2 separate regions of the Homo sapiens genome follow, and region 1 is linked to region 2. The links are contacts of gene promoters, found by promoter capture Hi-C in blood cells and fetal thymus (Javierre and others, 2016). All regions are on one chromosome and are shown on one strand. Each heading gives the region's core, a stretch centred on a gene start or on the middle of the fragment in contact. The rest is flanking DNA. Distances are from core to core; before and after follow the strand shown. Region 1 overlaps CDC14A (cell division cycle 14A). Region 2 holds the start of FRRS1 (ferric chelate reductase 1).

What was found. The method cuts DNA at HindIII sites, captures the fragments that hold promoters and counts their contacts. A CHiCAGO score of 5 or more calls a contact.
Region 1: a contact is called between a fragment that was not itself captured here and the fragment with the promoter of FRRS1 in region 2, in 1 of 17 cell types (erythroblasts). The highest score is 6.3, in erythroblasts.

The regions. Positions count from the first base shown.
Region 1 is chr1:100,494,993-100,499,824 of GRCh38, reverse strand. It overlaps CDC14A (cell division cycle 14A), which reads right to left. Exons shown (of 16, transcript NM_003672.4): 13 at 3,776-3,823; 14 at 1,618-1,740; 15 at 563-896. Among named protein-coding and RNA genes, the nearest start is that of GPR88, 41 kb to the left of the region's middle. The HindIII fragment of the contact is 1,427 bases long and covers 1,572-2,998 here.
Region 2 is chr1:99,763,377-99,768,299 of GRCh38, reverse strand. It overlaps FRRS1 (ferric chelate reductase 1), which reads left to right and starts at 1,665. Exons shown (of 17, transcript NM_001361041.2): 1 at 1,665-1,693. The HindIII fragment of the contact is 6,315 bases long and covers 1-1,918 here.

The sequences.
Region 1 (4,832 bases), core at 1,036-3,535, 730 kb before region 2:
TATTTTATTCTGGGTCAGTTCCTTGCAGGAGGTGAAATATTCAAGGGCCTAATGCTTAGTTCTAGGAAGATACTGTTCACTCAGCACCTTCCACGTTTCAATACTCCAAAATTAATTCACTGATATATGATGCGGAAAAAGCCATAATTCCCCAAACCAGCGCACCCCCAGCAAATGCTATCCACTGTATGAATCAGCTCCTGGCTTAGCACCAGATATTCAGAGTGATTGGAAACATAACTGAAAAGTAACTGAAGTCAACAATGCCCATAATCAAAAGAATGAAAGCTATTTCCCTTTTAAGAGAAACTACTTAAAAAGGAGTTGGGGGTAAGAAGAAAAAGAAGGAAGGAAGAAAACCCAGTTGTGACTTGGCGTTTACTTGAAGAGGAGCTAGCAGAATGTAGTGCATAGACAGTTTCACAGCACAGAGGGAAGGCATCGCTCAGAAGGCTTCCTTGGCACTATTAAATTTCTTTGGTGGCAGCCTCGGCTGGGAAGGCAAGGCACAGAAGTTGCATTCAGGGTTCTGAGGACCAGGAGGTGGTGTCTGCGCACTTACAGGGATAGAACGGCTCAGGAATCTCGCTGAAGAAGAAGAAAGCCCGGTGTAGGAGGGTCGGAGGATGGTGGTGTGCTCCTCTGTCTTGGCGCTGTGGGGGCCTGGGGGGCTGTTCAGGTTGCCCCCGTTGCTGTTGCTGCTTCTGTTGTACTGATTATTGTTGAGCTCAGGGTAATTTCTGGTAGTTGGCTGGGAGCTGCCATTCAAGAGGTTGGTAAACGGGCTGGCTGTGAAGCCTGCCTTAGAGGATGAGGAGGTCTTTTTGTTCTCTGGATCATCTGTTGCAGCATTCAAGTTCCCTAGAGAACTGGCTAGCCGGGAGTTTATGGAAAAGCTGAATGGAAAACACAAGTGAGGAGGGAAAAAACAGACAACAATGTACAATCACACAGAGCTCACGTTTCTAAAACACATACTCATGACATTAGGGGAACATGATGAAGATGAATCTGATCAATGTGAATGATGTCAGGATGGCTTCCTCATCACCCTTGGTGTTATGATAATATGTAGCCTTGAGTTATACATATCAAGTTGCTTTGTCAAAAGCAGTTAACTAGGACCCAAGAAACTGGCTAAAACACTTTGACTACAGATCTTGAAATAGAACATCACAGAGTTTTATTTACCCTGGGGTGGGAAGTAAAGGAAAAGGGCCATGTAAGGGGAGCATTAAAAGCAGACTTAAGTACATATTCAATCACATGACTACATCAAACATCCCTACCCATTTTGGTTAGTTCTCCCTTGCCTATACGTGTCAGCTGAGAAATGACAATATCATTTGTATATACAACTGAACTCCATTTTCTGGATCACACTAAGCCAGCTGCTCACTCTCTAGAAGAAGAGCACGCTTTGCACCATTCCCTCCACAACCTTGTCTCCTGCCTTCCCAAGACAGGAACGGAAGCCCCAGAACATCACAGGGTCTTCCGTGGTTTCTCCTCTTCTCCCTTGTCCCCTCCTCTGACAAAACTGCAGCTAAACTCATCGCCTGCTGCAAGCTTCCTTTACCTCAAACCAGCACCTTAGAAGAGGGAGAGAAAAATTACCTTCTTACAGTGGCACCCGAAGACAAAGAAGTTCTGTTGATCCTCTTGGCCGTTGCTGAAGGGGACAGTGCCATTTTTGATGTCTTCAAAGTAACTGCAGATCCTTGCAGGGATGAACTTAATCTTTGCGGAGAAAAATGGCAAAGTGTCACAATAAAGTAGTCTTATCTTAAACATTCAGCAACTAACTAGGACAAGATAAATTAATCAATCTTAAAGATATCATGACAGGTCCTAATAGTGATGACAGCAGCGGCAGCCACCACTGACACAGCACTAACTCTGCCAGGCACTGTTCTAAGAACCTTAAAGATGTCAGCTCAGCTTGTCCTTACAACAACCCTAAGAAGTAGCTAATATTGCTGTCCTTACTTTACAAGTGAGGAAACAAAAACACAGAGGAAAAGTTCCTCATCCAGTCACTCAGTTAGTGAACAGCAGACCTGGGATTCAAACCCAGGAGTCAAAGTCCTGCTCTTAGCCATGATCCTGTCTTCCTGGGCCACTGCCCTTCTTTGCCACTGGTATTCATTCCTCAGCACAACCTTAGATTCCACTTCTTATATGTCAAATCCATCCTCTTCTTTTCACCCTGCAAACTACCCTAGGCGAGGCCATCTTTATTTCTTATCCTTGACTACAAGTGGCATCTTTTAATCTTATTCCTAAACAATTCAAATTGTGAATAGCCTTCAGTGAATCATGTCACTTCACTGTTTAAATCATTTCATCTTTCCTCTGTGCCCACAAGCCTATAGAAACTCTTTGGCTTGGCATATGCAGCCCCTCCAAAATCTGGACAGGTCCTTCTTTCCACACTTTCCCATTGGACATCTCTATTCCAGCTACATAAGAATGCCTTGAGTTCCCTGAATGGGTAGCGTCCACACGTTTGTCCAGTTTGCACAGACTATTTCCCTGCCATGGCATTTTCTCATCTCCTTCCCATCCTCTACCTCTTATCTTCCATGTCCATTTGACCCACTTCTATCACACTTAGCCTTTAATGGTCCAATCAGCTGTTACCTCATCAAGCAAGCCTTCTCTGAGTTCCCAAGCAATATATGTTTCATCATATATTCTCATAGTAAATCATAGCTCTTATACCATATTGCGTCATCTGATATTTGTCTATCTCCGTTACCTGATGTAAGCTCCTTGAGGGCAAAGACTTCTCTCTCATTTCAATTCCCAGTGGCTAGCACAATGCTGGATTCTGAGCAGGTGCTCAATAAATATTTGCCAAGTGGACAAAAAGGAAAAACTGACTCAAATCTGGAGAGCCAGGGCCCAGTCATAATCTTAATACCAAATCTGTTTGATCCTAGATAAATCATTTAATATAGCTGAACTCTGTTTTCCTCTCTGCTAGAGAAAAGCTTATTTACTTGTAGACTCTTTCCTTCATTATCCACCCACCAAACAGCAGCTTAAGCTCATGTTTTGCCTCCAAAATAAAAATGGAAAAAGTTCTACAAAGAAGCAATTCAAGCTTCTCCAGAAGCTCCAGATGCTTAAGCCCTCTTTGAACTGCCCTCACTAAACAGTCCTAAACCTAAGAATGAATAAGAACCAGCAGGTGAAGAGCTTCTTTCCCCTATTTCATCAACACTCTTGGCCAAACATCTCTGCTGCTCTCACTGAGTGCCACACCAGATCGTGGTACCACTCCCGGAGGTTTCAGGGGACATTTTTCCACAGAACAAAACTAGTGTTTCCTCTTGAAAAGGAAGGTAGAGAAGAAAATAAGACTAGAAAATAAAGGAGGGGAACAAATGCATGCTGATTGGGAAAAAATAGAAAGAGGACCAATAAAAATGAAAACAATTTAAGCTAGATCTATCACTAGATCAAAAGGAGAAATGCAGAGCACCTGTAGTTTCTTAGAGACCCCCCTCCACAATGTGCTAAGAGCACAAAATACATTGATGTCTCTACCACCACCACACAGTCCTGTGGGCATGCCAGCAAAAAAAAAAAAAAATCCTTTTCATGGTGAGCATTAAAAATAAGGCATAAACAATATGGAAGAGAAAGGAAGCAATTTAAAAAGCAAAAAGCTGTGTACAGTTGATTTTCGTGTTTGAGGCTTGGGAAACATGGCTAAAAGGAAGCATATATTTACAAGCTACTAGACATTCAACCTCATTGGCAGTACCTGAAAGGCTGGGACACTGCTCTTGGATGTCCTTTTGTATCATCTGACCTGCGGAAATCAAAGACAGATGCTCACATATCACCAGGGCACACGTTTTCACAAAGACCACAAGGCACATCAAATGGTATCAAACCAGTAAAAATATTAAATTAGCAAAAGGGAGAAACCTTGCAAATGGATATTAGATTACCCAGAACCAGGCTTGCTATCCCCTTTTCTCATAATACTGCAGAAAATGATAACCTCATCTTTGAGCAATATGAACCTTTATTCCTTAGATCAGGAACTCAGTAAAGACCCAATCTGACTACAGTGTTATAGTTTCTCCCAGATTACACATGAAAACTAAATTCCCTGTGAATCTGTTTGGTGTTTACCATACCGGCAAAACATCCTTCTGCTATGTGTATCTCTTATTTATAAGTCAAAAAAATGTTGCTGCTTACCATTATATTAATTTGTGGACTGGGGCCTTGCCACCCAGTATATTGTAATTTTAAAAAATGATGATATTTACAAACGTTTGCACCTTTTGATTCCCCTTTTTTTAAACCCAATCTGAGCTATCAGCAGGTTTCAAATGTGATCAGAAGTCAAGTCCCATCATTGATTCTGGTGAGTAGTTTGAGACTTCAAAGTCAAGATGGCTTATAACTTTACAGGCACAGGTAAGAATTGCTTATTCAATTTTCAAAAATAGAAGGTAAAGCTGAGGAACTAGCTTAGATTGCCAGAGACTGGCATACAATACTTTTATATACACTATGAGTCAATACAACAGCCTCAGCACACCTGTGAGGATCCAACACAGGACAAGAAACTCATTCACAGCAGAAGGGGAGAAATCCAAACAGAATTTGAAACAGAGTCCCAGAGATAACTGCTTTGCAGCTTAAGGTAGAATTCCAGAGACTGAGATGGCAGCAGTTGCTTTCAATAAACTTCTAAACTTTAGCTACTCCCAACAGTGATAAAATAATCAATAAACAACACAAAATAGTAAACTTAGTATTTGTAGAACAAAATTCAAAACAGAAGATTACAGATTAAAGAGAAG
Region 2 (4,923 bases), core at 416-2,915:
AAAAAGGCTTTTTGCAAAGCCTTTTATAACTGAGGAAATTATGGCAGTGAATGAGAACAGACCTAACTGGCTCTGTCTTGCTTCTAATCTTTAAGCTGTCCTTGTTCATTCCTGGGCATATGCCAAACTAACTTTGGGAAGGAATCCAGTTCATGTTTTGACTCTGAAACAAAATTGGTAGTAGCCCTTTCCTGAATAGACCCCCTTCTTGCCTGGGGACCAGTCTGCCTTTGCAGGACCAACAAATTAGCTACAAGATTAGAAATTATGGTTTAGGGGTCATGCAGCCTCTGGCTCCAAGAGTCTGAACCTCCCCAAATTGCTCCTGGGGATAACATCACTATTGTAAAACCTAAGATCAGTGCTTGAGATATTTTGCAGAGCCTGGACTCGGTGGATCAGCTGATGCCACACAGACCGGTAATTGGGCTCACCCAGTTCTGCCATCCCACCCAGGAACAGAAGACAGCAAGAAAACCTCACGTCGACCCCCCATGATTCCATCTCCAATCTGACCAATTAGCACTCCCACTTCCCAAGCCCCTACCCGCCAAATTATCTTTAAAAATTCTGATCTCCGAATCCTGGGGAGACTGTGTTGAGTAATAATAGAACTCCGGGCTGGGCGCGGTGGCTTATGCCTGTAATCTCAGCACTTTGGGAGGCTGAGGCAGGTGGAATCACTTGAGGTCAGGAGTTCCAAACTAGCCTGGCCAACATGGTGAAACCCTGTCTCTGCTAAAATACAAAAATTAGCCGGGCGTGGTGGCGGGCGCCTGTAGTCCCAGCTACTGGGGAGGCTGAGGCAGGAGAATCGCTTGAACCTAGGACGGGGAGGCTGCAGTGAGCCGAGATCATGCCACCGCACTCCAGCCTGGGCCACAGACAGAGACTCCGTCTCAAAACAAAACAAAACAAAACAAACAAACAAACAAAACAAAAAACTCCGGTCTCCTGCACAGCCAGCTCTGCGTGAATTACTCTTTCTCCATTGCGATTCCCCTGTCTTGATAAATCGGCTCTGTCTAGACAGCGGGCAAGGTGAACCCACTGGGCAATTACAATGTCACTCAAGGTCTGAAATGGAATGTTTAATATTTTCAATTACATTAAAGAGAAGAAAAAAAGTAAAAAACAGGAAAACAAAAAACAAAATAAAAACAAAGATTGTTAAAAATTCAATTACATTGTCTTTTCCTAGCCCTAAAATTTTTCTTTTGCAAAAGAGTCTTGTGAAACAGATTAAAGGCTTAAAAAGAAACAAAACTCCTAAATTTCAGGGGTAATTTGCAAAATAAAAGATTTCTTTTGCATTATATCATTCACACTGCAGAAAGGTTTCGGTTCTATGCAATCTGATCTTTTTCCACTTTTTAAAAGTTAATTTGCTTTTACTTAGCACTATTATAGAACAGGTATTTTCAAATAGTTTTGCAATTAAACACAAAAACTATAATTTTTGTGGCGAAGTAGGTACTAGTTGGCAAACACTGTTCCTTAGTGTAAAACAGAATTCTAAGTTTTCAGAAATGGAGTCCTAAAACTAGCACTGGTCTTGCAAATCAAGTTCTGCAGCTTAGTTTGGGAAAGGTTCCCTTTTGGCTCAAGGCTTAACTGGCTCCACCCAGCTGCTGAAATGTGATACAAGTTGTAACAAAACCGGAAGTTGGTTAGGCTGCCTTCGCTTCTCAAGGTAAGTGTCACGTCTTTTTCCTTAATGTCAAAGCTCTTTGTAAAGCGTTAAAAATCAAATCCAGCTTAGCGACAGACTGGAGAGCGAGTGCCTGTGCTGACCAGGGCAGTCGGCCAGGCAGAACGGGTGCTGTATTCCGAAACTATGTTCTGGAGCTTGAATTGAGCTAATGAGTGTTCACTAACGAGTTAGGTTAATATGTCCTGTGACTTTGACTAACAAGCTTTAATTCCAAGATATGGGTGGTTATAAGTAGAGACGTGTTTGGGATCCTGAAAATCATTGACTTTATTCTTGCAGGAGTTTTTTTTTTGTTTTTAATTTTAAATTTAAAACTGTAGGAACTCTTTTTTTATATTTAAAGCTAGTGGCATGGTTACCTATATCAGGGTCACTTAGAACCTTATTTGGTTTTTAAAGTGGCTTTTTATCTAGAACTTTTAGTCCCCTTACCCTCCCACTCCCTAGCCCTGGTGTGTCGTTAAAATTTCAGAAAGACTCCAGGGTGGCAAGGTGTTATCACTGCACTTATTTTTGTGTGTGCTTGTCATACTGCCCTAAAGGGTAAAGGGGATTTTTCAAATTGTAAATGTGTTATTAGGAATATTTCTTAACATAGCTAAACTTTTCAGTTCAGATATTTTCATTTGCTTCTGTATTTTTATTTTTTATTTTTATTTATTTATTTATTCATTTATTTTTGAGACGGAGTCTCGCTCTGTCCGCCAGGCTGGAGTGCAGTGGCGCGATCTCGGCTCACTGCAAGCTCCGCCTCCCGGGTTCAAGCGATTCTTCTGCTTCAGCCTCCTGAGTATACTGCTGGGATTACAGGCGCCCGCCACCACGCCCGGCTAATTTTTTGTATTTTTAGTAGAGACGGGGTTTCACTGTGTTGGCAAGGATGGTCTCTATCTCCTGACCTCGTGATATGCCCGCCTCCGCCTCCCAAAGTGCTGGGATTACAGGCTTGAGCCACCGCGTCTGGCCTATTTATTTATTATTTTCGAGACGGAGTGTTGCTCTTGTGGCCCAGGCTGGAGTGCAACGGCGGGATTTCGGCTCACTGCAACCTCTGCCTCCCGGGTTCAAGCAATTCTCCTGCCTCAGCCTCCTGAGTAGCTGGGATTACAGGCAGGCACCACCACACCCGGCTAATTTTGTATTTTTAGTAGAAACGGGGTTTCTCCATGTTGGTCAGTCTGGTTTCGAACTCCCAGCGTCAGGTCATCTGCCTGCCTCGGCCTCCCAAAGTGCTGGGATTACAGGCGTGAGCCACCGCGCCCAGCCACTTCTGTATTTTTAAAAAAGTGGTAAGATTTGAGTATTATACTGGGATAGAACTGAAGTTGGGGGCTTAATTTGATCTATCAGCTTATTGAAAACAAAGACCTTTTAAGAGATGGTTTTGTTAGGTTGGAGAAGTGAGTTTTAGTTCGTCATTTAGTTAGCCAGTATGTTGATTTTTTTGGTGAAGTGTACTCTCTGTTTCACACCTGTCAGCTTTTTTAATATTGGATTTTCTCAAAATTCACATAACAATCACACTGTATGAGTACTGTTTTGAAGGTTGTCTGCTAGTCAGAATGAATGGAGATCAATGTGTAGGACACCTTTACTGATATCCAGAGGTTTACCAAAAGACAAGTCACCAAATGTGGCAGAAAAACATGATAAAATTTATTAGGAAAAACTAAAGCTTATGGAGTGAACAGTTATTTCAGGTTGGTGGAATTAGGCAAGAATCCAAGAAAGGAAGACAGTTTTATATGGGAGACTTTGTTAATGGTGGTCATTGTGCTAGATATTTTGGAGATAGTATTTTATTTAATCCTCATGCAAGCCATTGATATTGGTGGCATTGTCTCTAACAAGTGAGAAAACTAAGACTCAGTAAGGTTAAATAATTTGTCCAGGGTCACTATGGTGGTGCCTGCTGGATTACATTAATGGACAGATTCAAACCTAGGTCTGTGATATTTCAAAGTCCATACACTTCATTGTATCATAGGACAGTAGTTGACGGCGTTTTAAATGGATCTTGAAAGAGGGGTGAAGGTCTTCTTTATCAAAACAAACAAAAATAGTAAAAGTAACATAGAATGTTTGAAAATAGAAAAAAGAAAATATCTAACCACCTTCAAATCAGTTTCTGTACAGTCTTACATGTACATACTTTGTAGTGTTTTTTGAAATTATAAAACACTACATGCTTTAAAAAAAATGCACATTATAAAGGGCATTAAAGAAAGGAAGCCCACTCTTCCCATCCTGAAAACACATACCTTCCTAAGGGGTAAACACTGTTGAGAACAATTGGAAGCATGTATAAAGGTTTTTTTCTTTTCCTTTTAAGTTATGTATATTTTGGTACATTCCATATCATTTTGCAGTTTTCTTGTTTTGATTCCTCAGTGGAGCATGAGCATGTATCTTCTTAACATGCAGATTCATGTCTTGGGATTTTTGTGAAATGAGTTCATACTTGCAAAGTACTTAAAACAATGCCTACCTCCTAGAATGCACTCAATAATTATTAGCTGATGTATTTGTTATCTGTTTACTCTATTTCATTTTGTTAACGTTTAGCAAGTATTATATAGTTTGGGTATAGCGTAGTTTATTTTTGTAACCACTTAAATTATCCAACATTTTTGCTACTGGAAATAATCCTTGCTTAACTGTATGGGTTTTTCTGTAAGATATATTTCTTTTCTTTTCATTCTTTTTTTTTTTTTTTTGAGACAGAGTTTCACTCTTGTTGCCCAGGCTGGAGTGCAATGGTGCCATCTCGGCTCACCTCAACCTCTGCCTCCAGGGTTCAAGCGATTCTTCTGCCTCAGCCTCCCGAGTAGCTGGGATTACAGGCATGCACCCCCAAGCCCGGCTACTTTTGTATTTTTAGTAGAGAAGGGGTTTCTCCATGTTGGTCAGGCTGGTCTCGAACTTCTAACCTTAGGTGATCTGCCCGCCTGGGCCTCCCAAAGTGCTGGGATTACAGGTGTCAGCCACTGCGCCCGAACTGTAAGATACATTTCTAGAAATGAAATTTCCAGGTCAGAGGATAAACATTTTTAATTTACTAAGATATTGTTAACATCTAAAAATGTGACAGTTTACCATTGTCCCTGTGTATGAGAGTGCTCGTTTCTTCACATCCTTGCTTATATCAGATATTATTACTCTTTTGCATATTACATGAAATAATGGGGAATACACAGTTCTACCTAGTT